Linked DNA regions of Homo sapiens: region 1 is linked to region 2. The links are contacts of gene promoters, found by promoter capture Hi-C in human tissues and cell types (Jung and others, 2019). All regions are on one chromosome and are shown on one strand. The core of a region is centred on a gene start or on the middle of the fragment in contact, and the rest is flanking DNA. Distances in the headings are between cores, read along the strand shown. Region 1 has its middle 26 kb from the start of MIR4433A. Region 2 holds the start of AFTPH (aftiphilin).

Region 1 (3,171 bases), core at 33-2,532, 210 kb before region 2:
CCCCGCCCTTAAGTGTTGTAGCAGCTTTTCCCCTGGGTGGAAAGAAACCTGGAGTCTGTTCCAAAAACTTTGGAAAAGGAAGCCCGGATCTCTCCAGTGCTCACTATATACTTTCCATGCACGGGAGTGGTTTACTGTAGCAAAGAGTATTTTGTTATGCCTTCTGGGTAATTTTGTGCAAAAATTTACAATGTCAAGGGAACATGGTTATTAGGAGCAAACCGTACAACTCCTTATCTGTTTCTCCACAGGCGCTAGCCATGGGGTTCAGAGCCAAGTGCCAGCTCTTCCTGCTAAAAATGTTCTCAATTTGGTCTCCGCCAGCAGTGAGGACAGCAGTGTGAATGTGTGAATTCTTGCTCCAAACTGGCTAGAACCAAGTTTTGTAAATGTCATTTCTTGGGATGCTGTTTTATCTGAGAAATCACATTTCACCAGCAGCACTGAAACTAGCTGATGATGCCATAATAAGTTCTGACTCCTGCAGGGAGAAGCTCTTTGAGGCCCTTTTTCAATACAGCTGACATGTTTTTCATTTAAGAGCCTTTTTAGGACAAGTTTAAACTCTCACATCACTCTATAAATCTTATGAAATGAAAATCAAATTCAGTACAGTTACAAGCTGTTCAATTCTATCTCCTTTATAACATTTATAACTAATATAACAGAAAATTTAAAAACCCTCTTTTGTGCTTTCTACCAAGGCGGCAATATGGACTCAATATACACAAAATGTAGAACTGAAAATGAATTACATGTTTAAAATACAGATTTTTACACAACAAAACAACAGTCCTGGACCTCCTCCTCCTTAAAAATTAATGTCATAATCTCCAAAGCATTTTTGGTCATGCAAAGTCACTATCAGATAAACCTCAAATTCATAATTTCAAGATAAGAGACACTGCCTCAAAATGGAAGAAAATGTCTTCTTCTAGAATCATTAGGTATATTATTTTACTTGGTAGGTTACTTGAAGCCGGCAGTTAAACTGGTCCCTAGATATTTATTAACCTAAGAAAAGACACGGGAAAATGTACTTCATACAGTCTTCAAGCAGATACTCCACTGTTTTAAAATGAATTTCATTAAGGCTTATACTCAATACACCTACTATACATGTGTATTTAAAATATAGTTTTTCCACTAATTGCAAGATTTAGTGAAAATGTGGCTTTGGCAGGCAATGAATAATAAGTATGCTACATATTCAGTAAAGTTAAAGTTGGGCTTGAAAATAACCATTTATTTATTGTTCAGATTACAATAAAATCTTGTTTGCCTGGAACTCAGGCTACTAGGAATATCAAATAAGAGAAATGTTTTGGAAATGTTCTGCTTTTACAGTTGTTAGGATGTGACTAGTAACTAAGTTGATAAAGAGGTGTATGTAACTAATAAAAGCAAAAACTTCTAGGTTGCACATTAATAGCTGTGTAGCTTCACCCCAGGCTCTTCGCCATTTGAGGATATAGTCCTCTGTGCAGTTTCATGCTCATGGGAAGACCCTGGATGGTTCTGAAGGGTTGTGTGCACCCAGTGCCTAAGTACAACGCCCCCAGAGCAAAGAGGTAGAATATGGTAGTAGCTAAGTATGTGGACTCCAATGCCAGTCAGTCTGAGTTCAAAACCCAACCATACCACGTACTCACTGTGTGACTTTAGGCCACATTGTCAACCTCTTTAGCCTCAGTTTCCTTATTATGTAAATAAAGTTATATCATTGGATTGTGAAGACTATACTAGTGTAGAGTGTCTAGCAGCACGCAGGCACATAGAAGGCACTCAATAAATGTGAAGATTTTTATTCCCAAATGATCCTTTTCCAATGGGTCCCAAGCTTCAGTCTATATCTTAGTTTGACTAGAGATGTGATAGAACCATATTCAGGAGAATTACCAAGGAAACACCTGTCACCTTTCTATTACCCCAGGTGTAGCTCCTAAAATTCCATCACTTGAACAAGTGTAAACAGAGAATATATTTGGACATTAAACATAGTGTTACTATTAGCAGAAACAACATCTAACACCTTTCTGCAAGTGTTCCATGTTCTGTCTCAGGAGCCAGTTGGGATATGGGATTCTGGCCCATCTAAAACCCAGAATTCCCAAACGCCTGTTCTGAATGTCTCCAACCACCAGGATCACCAATCCACTTTGGCCCTCTACCAACTACAGATTTTCTCACTCCTCCTAATGATTGCGTACTCTTGATTTAAGAGAAGCAGTTCTCCTTTAATCCAAGCCAAGTTAGAGAAAGCATGAAAGAAACATTCACTTCTCTTCCCAACTTGGCTGTCAGGTTTTTGGGAGTTGGCCAGGAGGAAAGATGGTCCCACGAGGAACTGCAAAACCAAGTGTCAACTGCCTGGATGCCGCAGGCCATACACACTTCTGGGGTAATGCTTTTCTCTAACATTCAAGTGAAGTGGCAGGAACCCCCATCCCACATTTGGTGGAAGCCAGCATGTCTCTTCCCACAAAGTTTGCTGGAACTCTTGAGGACCTTCCCGTTCTCCTAGTCTCCTCTTGCTCAGATTTCTCCATTCCTCTGCACTCCTGAGTGAACCCCGTGTCTTTCCTTCTAAGACTGCTGTGTTCCTCATATTGCTTTGTCCCATGTTGGATGCTGCCCCAATTCCTTAGCTTTCTCCAAAGCACCATCCACACAAGGCTGGGCTGTGCAGCAGTGTTTGGAGCAAGCAAGGGGTTGTCTGCAGTACAGCTCAACACAGGGACAACAGTTGCCATTGATGAGAAAGCCCATCCATTATTCCTGCCCTGGGGACTGTCCTGCTGACTGTATTACCCCTTAGGCCCATCCTGATGCTGTTTTCTCAGGTCCCTTCTTCTCTCTCCAGGTCCTTCTCCCTTCTCTAAGAGCCAGTCTTCTCCCCCAAATCCTGATTTCTTTCTTGTGCATAGAATCTGGCTCTCCATAACCTTATGTCCCACTAAACTCAGGTCTACCTTTGCAGACCGACCAGCCCACCAAAGTGCTTTGCTGGGCAGAGGCTCCACAAATGCTTCTGCCCTTAAATTGCATAAAGATCTGACAGCAGCCTTGAAATTCATACATGGGACATTTGTTTTCCCCAGTCTCTGTAAGAGGGAGGAAGACTGTATATCTGCTAGGATAGAACATAGGTGTGGCTCAGAGTCACACAGA
Region 2 (3,139 bases), core at 260-2,759:
GTCATATGTTCTTATTTTGATATTTCTGTTTAGTAGAGCTGTAAAATGAAAACAAGCATGTGTTCGTTTAAAATCAATTTCTAGTTTCTACACACACACAAATTCAAGCTTGCACACGAGCTAAACCAGCAGGGGGCGAAATACAATAGGCATAAATTTGACAAGCCATATAGATTTTTCTTACTTTAGTGACTGAGCAATAACACAAAATCCAGCATAACCACAAAGCAATTGATACTCCCATTTAAAGTGATGCAGTCTCCGTATATCTTACAGCGATTGAATAGTAAAGAGACAAATGCGGGTCCATTGGAGCGCTCCGAGTTAATTTGTCTAGAACATTGCAGAGGCGGGATAAATCGTGATGAACTGCTATTGTCCTTATCTTTCTCCTGATTTGTATAATTCCTCCACCCAAAGGGGTGGACACTTCTCTGTGCCTGAGGGGATGTTTTCCATTCTTGTTTCTTTGCGTAACTGCTGAGCTTTGCTGTTTTGGAACTATTTTAAATTATTCAAATTACTGATGCAGACGTTTGGCAAATATGGGCAGAATGAGGGGCCGGCGGGGGTCATGATTTGTAGGACCCCGGGCTCATCATCCGAGACAGTAATCATAATCCTGTAGCCTTGTAGTCTGATTGTTACACTGGCAGGTGTTCTAACAGATATTCATTGTAAAGGAGGAGGAAAGGTAATATTTTTATTACCTTTATATAAATAACAGTTGATTATATAAATAATCAACTGTTCAGGACTGATGATGGAAACAAAATCGGTTACGACCTCTGTTCCAGAAATGCGTTTGAATGCATAAGTTTATGGTGATCTCTTTAGCTTCACTAGATATTCTCCGTAAGGGTCTATGAAAAACGACCACCTTCTCCATCCATTAGCCAAATTCCGGACTACTATTTTCTTGTCGGTCTCGAAGACGATTTGTCAGTTTGGCGGCTGCTTTCCCACCTTAAATTCTATTTATCGCAACCTCTTGTTATTTGTTAAATATCAGCTTCTTCCTCTGTCGGCATAAATTTAAAAAGAGGAAGAGACAGGCTGTGAATGAAAAAGTCGTTTTTCGGGGCGAAAAGGGCAAGCTGACGAATGCTCTCTAGTAGGTTTTTGGTAAAAATGTGGTTCTATATTTCCAAACCTTTACAATTTTATTTGGAGAGCAAGAGACTTAATCCGGTCTTGAGCTGAACGTTAACCGGCTGAAAGGAGCACCTGTCCTTCGCCAGGAGCGCAGCCTCAACCGGCGCCTGAGTGCGGGAAGACGTCTATCCCCCTACAGCTCTATGACTCGCAAGGAAGTAAAAGGAAAGGGCAGCTTGCCCGCACCCAAAATGGCGGTCGGCGCTCTGCACGACAGCGCCTGCGCAGGGATAAGCGTTCTGTGACACCAATTCCCCTGGAGTGTCCTCCCCCACCCCACAGCACCCACCAGCGCCCGGTCCCGACCTAGCCACCTGCGCCCGGAAGTGACGTGTCGGCGGCAGCGGTTCCCCCGCTGCATGATGGGAGAGTGTGTGGAGTGGGCGGGGGGTCTCCGCGGAGGAGGTGGAGGAGGCGGCGGCGGCGGCGGAAGAGGGCGGAGGGTAGTGGGATGGGGGTCCCGCGGCAGCGGTGAAACTCCGGGTGGGCGTCCATGGTGCTGCTGCGCTGACAGGGCTGTGAGCAGCCGGCCTTCCGCTCTCACCAGTTCCGCGTCGGAATAGACGGTCCTTCCCCGGGGAGTCAGTTCCTCCCCGGGCCCCTGAGCCATGCCCATCGCAGCCGCCCCGAAGGAGCCAGGTAAGCGCCGCCGCTCCGCTCCCCTAGCTGCGCCGGGGAAAGAGGGTGCGGGGACCAGGCCCGGCCCAGCAGCCAGACCCTCACCCGGGCCGGGAGCATCTGCCCGCCGCGGAGCCGGGAGCTGTGAGGACGGAGCTGGCTCTGCGGGCCTGCGGGCTCCCGGCTCTGCTCTCTTCTGCGGCGAGTGCGGGAACGCCGCTGGTGGCGCCCGAAGCGCACGGCCCCCTCCTCGCCATCCCGGGCACCGGCCGGGTAAGTGGGAGTCCTTCCCTCCCCGGCCACCGCCGGCTCTCCCTGCCCCTTTGCTTCCACCTCCCAAAGCTCCGCGCTGGCTGCGTTCTCCAGGGAGCTGTTCAGAAGTTTGGGGCTTTGCTTGGGCTTCTTCGCTCTCCTTCCCCCTCCCTCGTGACAGGTGTAAACACTGCCTCCTTCACCGAGGCCCGAGGCTGGCCGCGACCTGAGTGTGCTGCTTCCAAGGGTCTCTGAAGCAAGCGAATTTGGAATCCTCCAACAGGCAGAGGGGACAGCCCCAAAGCTCACGCATCCCTTCCTCAGAGTACCTTTTCTGCTGTCTTCTTGCACTCTTCAAGAAATTATCTGCGTCTCCTCTCCAGTTTGCGTTTGAAAAGTTGGACCATATTCCTTAAGTGCCTGGTTTGGCAGGTGCTGCGTCTTGCTTGGGGCAGAGGCAGAGTATGGAGTGAGGGGTGGTAGGGTCCTTGCTCTATTAGGAAAGTAATGGGGATAGCAAGGTTTTTTTTTCCTTGTTGCTTTGTGCAAGTTATAGCTTGGTTATACTGAATCTTTTCTGTTGGGGCCGAGGGAAGAACTGACTCATACATGTAAATTTTTTACTGGGCGGGGGGATGAAACAAAAGTAATGGTTCCGTTTCAAAGTTCTCACTTTAGGAGAAGTAAAGTAGAACTTTGGTTTTCAACTTTTCCTACAGTGTAAGTCTTCCTTCCACCTCCTATTCCGAGGATTTTATTTGGTGGAGGGGAGACACAGAGTTTATCTTTGATGCTACACTTAATTGTTGCTTTCAGTTAACCTCTTAGACATTAAAATATATGCTAAACTCTAGGGACAACAAATGTTTCAACATTATTATGTTAATATAATTAACACAGTCACGTACATTTTATATGCTTTACCAGTTTAAATGTTGGCTTTTTTAGTAGTCATTTTTAACACTTCGCAGAGGTATATTTGTTTAAACAAAGTATCTGTGGTAGTCTCCTAAATTTTGTTCATAAAGATATTTCACATGGATTAAAAGACAGATCTTGTGTAAAACATCTAGCCCAGTAAATGGCACCTAGCAGATATTCATTAGCTCTAGTT

What was found. The method cuts DNA at HindIII sites, captures the fragments that hold promoters and counts their contacts. A contact is called where the count stands out against the background at its distance.
Region 1: a fragment that was not itself captured here is called in contact with the fragment with the promoter of AFTPH in region 2 in 1 of the 25 tissues and cell types used here (aorta).

Annotation. Positions count from the first base shown.
Region 1 is chr2:64,313,208-64,316,378 of GRCh38, forward strand. No RefSeq gene overlaps it. Among named protein-coding and RNA genes, the nearest start is that of MIR4433A, 26 kb to the right of the region's middle. The HindIII fragment of the contact is 4,884 bases long and covers 1-3,171 here.
Region 2 is chr2:64,522,819-64,525,957 of GRCh38, forward strand. It overlaps AFTPH (aftiphilin), which reads left to right and starts at 1,510. Exons shown (of 10, transcript NM_203437.4): 1 at 1,510-1,794. AFTPH-DT (AFTPH divergent transcript) reads right to left here and starts at 1,337. Exons shown (of 1, transcript NR_136167.1): 1 at 1-1,337. MIR4434 (microRNA 4434) reads left to right here and starts at 2,695; the gene lies at 2,695-2,747. RefSeq lists enhancers at 1,067-1,286, 1,388-1,888, 1,889-2,389 and silencers at 1,487-1,646, 1,677-1,756, 1,767-2,016. The HindIII fragment of the contact is 9,621 bases long and covers 1-3,139 here.